Regions from separate parts of the Homo sapiens genome. Here region 2 is linked to region 1. Evidence: promoter capture Hi-C in human tissues and cell types (Jung and others, 2019). All regions are on one chromosome and are shown on one strand. Each heading gives the region's core, a stretch centred on a gene start or on the middle of the fragment in contact. The rest is flanking DNA. Distances are from core to core; before and after follow the strand shown.

Region 1 (4,760 bases), core at 995-3,494:
CTAAAATCTATGTCTTAGTTCTGTCAGTTTAGTAATATGTCTTTCAAGGCTTCCTTTATTCTATTTAGCACATCTAAAGTGCTAAAGTTTATTCTAATAGTTTCGTGTTTTTACTTCTGAATTTAGATTCCTTTACTTCGCCCACTATACACAGGCTTTCCTGGCTTATGTTGAACCCTCGACTTTTAAGGTAATCAAGAATACTATTACATGAACTACTAGAAATGACCACAAAATAAATGAAAAATATAGGAGAAATGCAGAAGAAAAATAAGAAAAACAGCTACCATGTTACAATAATAATTGCGGAAAGGAAGGGTGGTGACAAGACCTCACTTTGAAAGAGATCATTACAGATATACAGAAAAGGGATAAACAAACAAGAAGGACAAACACAGGGAAACAGGAACAATGTTCATGGACAGGGAAGTCAAGGAAATAAGTAAACATAAATGTAAAAGGCACACTGGAAAAGATCAGGCAGTAAAAGATGACTTTAGAATCAGATTTACTTACTCATTAAGGAAGAAATCCCCACAGAGAACCTGAAAAAAACAATTAAGTCTGCCTGCTTGCCCTGGGGCCAGAAGTGTGAGCCAGCCAACTTGAGAGTTGGGACTACCTAACCGGTGCCCTCAGGGGCTGTAGGCCCTGGTTTTCAACACACTGCACCTAATGACAAACTCAGGCCACTGCTCTTCCATTTCTCAGGTAAAAATGCCTTGTTTTCAAGATTTCTGTAGGAAAGTGTTGCCAATTCTTGCATGTCCATTCTAAATGGCTCCTCAATCATCAACAGATGATTAATTCACAATATTCACAGTAAGTAGGGTGATCAGATTGTCCCAGTTTGCCCAGGTTTAGCACTGAAAGTTCTACATCCTTGGAAACCCCAGTCCAGGGCAACGCAGGATGGTTGGTCAGGATATATGGGAGCATCTTCCCGATCTTTTCACTGGCCCAAGGAGTCAACTATCACCGCAAAGTCTTCTCTCTAAATTGCCTCTCTAGAGCCTAAATGCTCCTTCCTGCCATCGCTCTCCTTCAAATGTGTTCCTCTTATCATCAGTCAATAAACTCAGTCTACAGGGGCAAAAACTGCCTCTCATTCATATGTACCCCACCACCTCTTGGCACACTACTGATGAACAAATATTTCCAGTATTTCTATCAAATATAAGTCAATCAGTCCCACAACTTCAAGCTTGGTCTATGGGGCCTCTTGATTCTCCCTGAAACTTAAAAGTTATGAAATTCAGGACACAGAATTGAAAAGTGAATTTTAAGTATCTTATATTGAAATCTATGCTTACGAATCATGATTCAGTTTTTAGCTAACAAAACACAGCATTCTTATATTCTGAAAGATGGGAGAGGAGGCAAAGGGCAAAACCTGATATTTCTTAGGTGTCAACAACTACAGTTTCCTATGTTTCTCCATCCCTATCAGGAAAAACTGCCAGGCTGAATTCTCACAAAAATTGCCTACAATGTCACTACTGTTCTCCACTCTTTCCAAGAACCGCGGTGAGGACTGGTCACGCAGCGTGAGGGGGGCAGGTGCAGAAGAGCAAGTGTAGAAGCCATCTCTTCGCCGGATAACGAGGCAGGACCCCAGCATCTCGTGGGACCTCCTCCCTTCGGGAAATTGCGAGCGGGGAACCAGGAACACGCAGGGCCCCGGCCAAGTAGCTGTGCTCAGGGGGATCATTTAAGCCAAAGGAAGGACAGCGCGAGGGGAGCGAGGGAAAGGCGAGGAAGCAACCGCTATGCAGGGTGGGGCAGGAGTGAGGGAGGGAAGGCAAAGGAGCGGCGCGAGGCGGTCTCGGGTCCGGAGAGCCGAGGACAACGCGGCGACTGGGCGCAGGGTGCACCCGAACCTGAAAGACCTGGCAGGTACATCCGCCTTGTCGGAGCCTGCTTCCTCGGAAAAATGAGTTTTTCTTGGGGATGAAACGAGAGGACTCTGACAACGCGCTCGGCACCGCATCCCCAGGTTACTGTTACTGCCGTCGCCGCTGTCCAAGAGGGTCGCCCTCCACTCCTAGCGGCCCGGCTCCAGCGCCCAGTCTGGGAGTCCGCCCTACCTGCCGTCCTTAGCCTCCGGGGCCTGGCCATCATCGTCTGTGACGACCTGCGGCCGCAGGGGCCGGCGCTGTCGCAGCCCGTCCGCCTCGCTCATGGTACGGGCGCCAGCCTCACCCGCAGAAACCACCTCACACTGAGCGGCGCCGGCTCAGACTCCAGGCCCGCCCTCCCCCGTACGCGGAAATGACGTTGCGCCCAGGGACCATTCCGCAGCGTTCTCCCCGCCCCTTCCGGCCTCATGGGCGGGAGGTCCCCGGCGCGTCGTTGCTCGGCGCTCTGAGGCTAATTCTGACCGCCCGGAAGTGGGGCTCGGAACCCGCTCAGAGATAGCACCGGGAGCTGCCGGGGTCCCCGCCTGTCTCGGACTCCGGGGCCCAGAACGCGAGTGGTTCAACCTCGGGCTCGTCTAGCCCAGTGCCTGCGCATGCCGCCTTCGTCTCACGTTTCTGAGGACGGGGATGCTCATGACGCACTTGGGAATTGCTAGCACGAGATGTTGGCCACTTTTATCGTTGGAGAGGATAGCGCTGTTTATTCAGTGTCAGCGACCCTGCTCTTACAGGCAGCGTCAAAAATAATGCATTCACACCCTTGGAACGAAGTCACCTCTGCCTGAAAATTACATCCTTCCCCGACTCAGCCGGTTAAGGGGAAAACTTGGGCTAGAAAATGTTTCCCTCTGGTTAAGGCCAGATGTTGAGTATTAAATCTTTTTGTGACGATTACAACAGACATTTGATAAAGTTTATTAAGTTTTGATAAAGTTTATTAAGTTTTGATAAAGTTTATTAAGGATTACCCTTAAGTAAAGTCCAGGTAGAAGTAGAAATTATCACTAACAAAGTTTAAGAAAGCATAGAGAGGCATTGTTCTTTCAACAGTATTGCAGGAAACCAGAAATGTTCCCAGGTGCTGGGAGACGATGGTGGGCAAATCACAGACAAGGCCCCTCCTTATAGAAATTAAACTAGTGGGAAAGATGACTTTAATCAGATCATCATCATAAAATAGACGTAAAATTATCAAACGTAATAATTGCTTCAAAAGGGAAGAGCTGAATCTTGTGAGAGCATTTGAGATTCAAAGAGGAATCGAATCTGGAGGAAGTGACAGGCAGAAGAAATCAAAGCCCGTTACCAGTGGCACGAGGAATTATCTCTGGAAAAGCCATGTTCAAAATGCAGTGTTAAGAAATAATTTCCTCTTGGAGGCTTTTACCTTTTTAAATGCTAGATGGCACTAGAATTCCATGTGAATGCTTTTTATTTATTCATTCAAAGAGCGGAAGAACCAGCTTGAGGGAAGTGGAGAGCTGTGCAAATCCAGTTCTCCAGAGATCCCAGGTAATAATTCAGGCCTCGACAACATTTTACTTCATTCTGTGTCATTGAGAATAGCCAATACAGCTATTAAATCAGGGATAGTGTTAACAAAGTACTGTATGATCTCACGCCTTCCTGCCTGTCTGGACTATCCCTCTTGCTCCCCACCCCCCATTTCAGACATTCAGGATGGCTTAACATGTCTAATCTCATGCCTGGCTGCCTTTGTCCTTGAGGTTCCTTCTTCCTGTGATACACTCTCCTTCACCTCCACTTGGCCAATTATTTTTATCATTCAGGACCCACTTCAAGTATCCTTGCTGAAAATTCTTCTCCCAGTTTCCCAAGCAGAACATCTTCCTCTTTGTCTTCAAGGCACTTTAAACATGTCCCAGCCATAACATTGAACTCACTGCATTGGAGCTATTTGTGTTCCATGCCCAGTGTTAAAGCCCACGCACTGCAAACACCCAGGGACACATTCAGAAGAAAAATAATGGCAGTAAGTTGGGTTTACTGAACTTGCTGCAGCAAAGAAATGCACCAGAGGACCGGTGAGGTTCCTCAAAATGGGGGAGTCATGGGAGACTCCTTGTGGGGTTTGGGGGCTGGAGTTAGTCCATCGATAGTCTTGCCCAGGGTTGGTCAGAATCCGTTAACAACGGGAGTCACTGGAGGAACCGTGGCCTTAGCTCTGGGACATGTAAGTCCATTCGGAGTTATCAGGAGGTCAGCTCGTGGGCTTATCATGAAGCACGTAGGTAGTTGGTGTTACAGTGGTCTGAGCTAGATCATTTGTGCTGCATAGCACGGGTTCAGTACAGTTTTTCTGTTTTCAAGTCACGGTGAAGCACGCTTTGCTTGTTGTATTTGTTTCAGTTATCAGTTCTCCCACCCCACCTTCCAACCAGACCGACTTTGTTTCTCATCGTGCTGATGCCAGTTGTTGGCAGAGGAATGGGACCACTATGATTAATTTGATCAGGTTTCTCAGCACCACTGATATTTTGGGCCAGATAATTCTGTTAGGAGGCGGAGGGGGGCCTCTCCTGTGCGCTGGTGTTTCAGCAGCATCCCTGGGCTTCCCCCACTAGATGGCAGTAGCATCCCACCTAGTCGTGATGATAAAAAATGTTGCCAGACATTGACAGATAGCCCCTGGAGGACAAAACAGCCCTTGGTTGAGAAGCGCTGAGTGAGACCAACCAAAACCCACACCCAACCCTGGCACTGGGGATGAGGCTCACTTCCATCGGAACACTGGCCCACGTGGAGGGCATTTATCTCAACAAAAGCAGGCTCTGCCAGCATGGAAGAAGAAGCGCATGATGCTGGCAGGGAGCCCACAGT
Region 2 (4,335 bases), core at 609-3,108, 540 kb after region 1:
ACGAATAAAGCATCCACAGGAGGGCTGGCCAGCAGGGCTGGCGTCTGGCAAACAGCGGTCCCCTCTGGCCCTGTCTTTGCAGGCTCATGGCATAGGCAGTAGGGGGAGCCCACCCATCTGACCAGCCAGCCCCCAAGGGGATCTGCAGCTCTGCTCCACTGTCCCCATGTGAGCAGGGAAATACAGGCAGCCCCCACCACTTCTCAAGGCTGCACTGAGCCTTCTCAAAGCCCATGGCTGAGTTACTGAGCATTCAGAGCCGCTCCTCTCCTCTCCTCTCCCTAACTCCTGCGTCTCAGACTCTGCCCAGAGAGCAGCTGCTTCACCTATTGGTGAGTCAGGTGCGGGCAAGCAGGTGAGTCAGACACAGCAGGTCTACAAGCCAGTCAAAGACCTTTCTGTGACAATTTGCCAGCATATGGCCTAACCCCTATCCAAGACAATATCCAGCCACATTTTCAAAATAAAGGAAACGAGGAGGTACTGTCTCCTCCCATACACCCGATAGAACCTGTCCTCCCCTCACCCCAGGAAGAGGGGCAAAGCGTCTTTCCGTAACCTCTCAAATACCCCATGACCAACCTTAGCAAATGGAGGCAGTTGGAAACCCTGGCCAGGAAGGCTTAGAAAAACTCCAAGGCTCCACAGAAGACTGCATTCACCTGGAAAGCGGCCCGGCTCAGCCACATAGGAACCCCGCTGCAGAGAGGCTGGCCGCTTCAAGTGGCTGCCCTGGGATCCAAGAGCCCCAGAACACAGCCCAGGCAACACGACAGCAGACAAACCATGAACCCCGCAGAACTGTGGAGGGTCTCAGAAGCAGTGGAGCAGCCTGAAGATGGGGCTTAGAATTCCAATGTTCACACACACTCCAATCCCTGGAGTCTGGAGCCGATGATGCCAGGCGGATGTGGGAGAGGAGAATAATGAAGGGGCTGAGCCCAAAACACACACACGCGCACACAGAAAAATTGCACTACCCAGAGAAGGAAAGAGGAAAGCCATTTCAGCCAGGAAACAAAACAGACTGCTGGGCAAAAAGAACGATCCGAGACCAAGGGAAGTTTCCTGGACACTGACATGTTACAGTGGCAAAACAAACGTCAACAGCAGAATCGGAAGACAAGGAAAGCTCCTATAAAGTGTATCTAAACAATAAAGATAAAAAATGAGAGAGAAAAAAAGGGAAATTAAAAATCAATTCCATACAGTAGTCAAATCAGTGTGGTCTCAGCACAGGCAGACATAGACCCATGGAACAGAATACAGACCCCAGAAATCAACCCCCATGCATACAAATGATCTTCAACAAGGGTGTCAAGACCACAAAACGGGAAAAAGACTGTCTCTCCAATAAATGCTGCAGGGAAAACTGCAGATATCCACAAGCAAAAGAACTCAGTTTAACCCTTGCTTTCTACAATATACAAAAATTAACTTTTGTAAAATTTACCAAAAATGGATCAAAGACCTTAAATGTAAGACCTAAAACTATAAAGCTTTTTATAGTTTTAACTAAAATAGTGTAATAGTTTTATAAACAGAGAGAAAGCTTCATGATGTTGGATTTGGCAGTGATTTCTTAGATATGTCACTAAAAGCACAGGCAACAAAAGCAAAGATACACAAAGGGGACTACATCAAACTTGAAAACTTGAAGGCACTGCGGGGCCAGGATGGTGGGAGCAGGGGAAGCCAAAAGAAAAGTAGGTAAACTCTAAGTCTGTCCTTCTTCCTGGCCCAGGATACACAGTCCTCCTGTGCCCAACTTCTCACCAGACACCTGCACGTTAGCTCACTGCAACCTTGGCCTTATCAGTACTGCACAAAGCCCTCTTCAGCATGCAGCATAAACACTATTCTATAAAATCCCCAACAAAGCTTTGTCTCTTTGCAGTCAGCTCCTCTCTTCCTGCTGTGCCTGTTACTCCCTTGCAATGTATTTTTCTCCTTTCTCTCTGCCTTTCTTGGTAAATTCTTCTTACCCCTGCACTGCCAGCCCCAGACAGTTGCCGCTCACTTGTGACAATAACCAAAAGAACTGAAAACAGCATCTCAAAGAGATACAGTCATGTATCACTTAACAATGGTGATAAGTTCTGAAAATGTGTTGTTAGGTGATTTTGTTGTTATGCAAACATCACAGAGTGTACTTACACAAACCAAGATAGCATGGCCTACCACAAACCTAGGCCACAAGCAGGTTCGTGTACTGAACACTGGAGGCAATTGTAACACAATGGTAATCCAAACATATCTAAACATAGAAAAGGTACAGAACTAGAGTATTGTAATCTTATGAGACCACCACTGTATATGCAGTCCATTGCTGACTGAAATATTGTTATGTGGTATATGACTATATGTACTGTCATCCCTCAATATCCATAGGGGGTGGTTCCAGGACCTCTCATGGATACCAAAATCACAGATGCTCAAGTCCCTCTATAAAATGATGTAGTATTTGCCTATAACCTATGCATATCCTCCTGTATACTTTAAATCACCTCTAGATTACGTATAATACCTAAGACAAGGTAAATGCTGTGTAAGTAGTTGTTATACCATATTGTTTAGGGAATAATGACAAGAAAACAAAAAGCCTCTACATGTTCAGTATAGAGGCAACCATCACATGCCTAACTACATTTTTGATTCATGGTTAGTTAAATCCACAGATGTAGAACCCACTGACACAAAAGACTCACTGTACTTCTGTGTACAATGAAATATTATTACACCTCAAAAAGGAGGAAAATCTTTTCATTTGCAACAACATGGATACGCCTAGAGGACATTAACGCTAAGTGAAATAAGGCCGGCATAGAGAGACAAACGCCACAGACCTTACTCAGATGTGGATTCTAGAGCAGCTGGCCGCAGAGAAGCTACGAGTGAACAGAAGTGGCCAGGGGCTGGTGTCGGGGGTTGTGGAGTTGTTGGGTAGGGGTGCAAAGTTTTGGGTAAGACATGAATAAGTTCTGGCGATCTACTGTACAACGTGGTGACTACAGTTAATAATAACATATTGTATACTCAAAAATTGCTATGAGAGTAGATCTTAAATGTCACCACAAAAAGTATTAAGTATGTGAGGGGACAGATATGTTAATTAGCTAGATTTAACAATTTTATAATGTATACATGAATCAAAACATAATTTTGTACACCATAAATATATGCATTTTTGTCAATTATACCTTCATAAACTGGGGTGGGGGAGAAGTTCTAGAGATCTGTTACAAAACTAAGCGAATCTAGTTAACATTACAGAACTGTACACTTAACAATGGTTAAGAGGGTAAATTTCATGTTGTGTTTTTTACCACCATTAAATTTAAGTAAAACATATTTTTTAAAAATAAAGAAAGAAAAGTGTTCAAAATATGGTGACCTGCTTTCTGAAACTGCCCAACTCTGTTCTCCTACAGCACTTTTATCTGGATTTTCTCCTTGCCTCCCTCTCCCGCAAAATAATCAATCCCAAATCTCTCGACATCCTTGAAAAGCCCAGAAAAGGGAGCCAAGGGAAGGGAAAGGGGAAATGATTAGAATAATACAAGACTTTTCCAAGCACACAGATGGAAAAGTCATTCCGCTTGGGACAACAAATGAAAAACACCCGCGCCAAGCACACCCTTGTGAACTTCAGAGCAAACTAACGAGTGAGCCCTACAGATGTCCAGAGAGAAAGAGCAGCCCCACATCACAGCAACAGGGATCAGAATGGCACCATGCCCACAGCAGCAAGGCTGAAAGTTCAGAGCCAACCCAGGGCCTTCCATGTGCTCAGGGTAAATGACTTTCCACCTACCCAAGAGACTATATAACCCACGCTGAATACACACTTCGGCAAAATAAGGGGTGAACCAAGAAAGTCAAAGACACAGGCTCACGATCTGGGCTCCATCCAAGACGAGAGGCTTTGGTGTAGGAGCTCAGCCAGGCCAGGGATGGGAGGTGACCAACCCCAACAGACTGCTGTGTACTGCCCACTGAGCCTTTGAGAAAAATAGGGATAGGCTTTTGACAAGGCTGATGGAGCATTTGGAAAAAATAAGAATAAATTCATTAAAAAGTAAGCCAGGGCTGGGAGCAGTGGCTCACGCCTATAATCCCAGTACTTTGGGAGGCTCAGGCAGGTGGATCACTTGAGGTCAGGAGTTCAAGACCAGCCTGGCCAACATGGTGAAATCCTGTCTCTACAAAAATACAAAAAATACAAACATTAGCTGGGCATGGTGGCAGGCGCCTAAAATCCCAGCTACTCAGGAGGCTGAGGCAAGAGAATTGCTTGAGCCTGGGGGGCAGAGTTTTCAGTAAGCTGAGATCATG

What was found. Contacts are between HindIII fragments. The study calls those that stand out against the background at their distance.
Region 2: a fragment that was not itself captured here is called in contact with the fragment with the promoter of APMAP in region 1 in 2 of the 25 tissues and cell types used here (aorta and hippocampus).

Annotation. Positions count from the first base shown.
Region 1 is chr20:24,990,507-24,995,266 of GRCh38, forward strand. APMAP (adipocyte plasma membrane associated protein) reads right to left here and starts at 2,245. Exons shown (of 9, transcript NM_020531.3): 1 at 2,088-2,245. The coding sequence starts at 2,182. RefSeq lists enhancers at 1,798-2,298, 1,857-1,916, 1,937-2,016, 2,147-2,386, 2,299-2,799 and 1 more. The HindIII fragment of the contact is 14,400 bases long and covers 426-4,760 here.
Region 2 is chr20:25,532,342-25,536,676 of GRCh38, forward strand. All of the region lies in intron 1 of NINL (ninein like), which reads right to left. Among named protein-coding and RNA genes, the nearest start is that of NINL, 51 kb to the right of the region's middle. RefSeq lists an enhancer at 222-1,222. The HindIII fragment of the contact is 6,083 bases long and covers 1-4,335 here.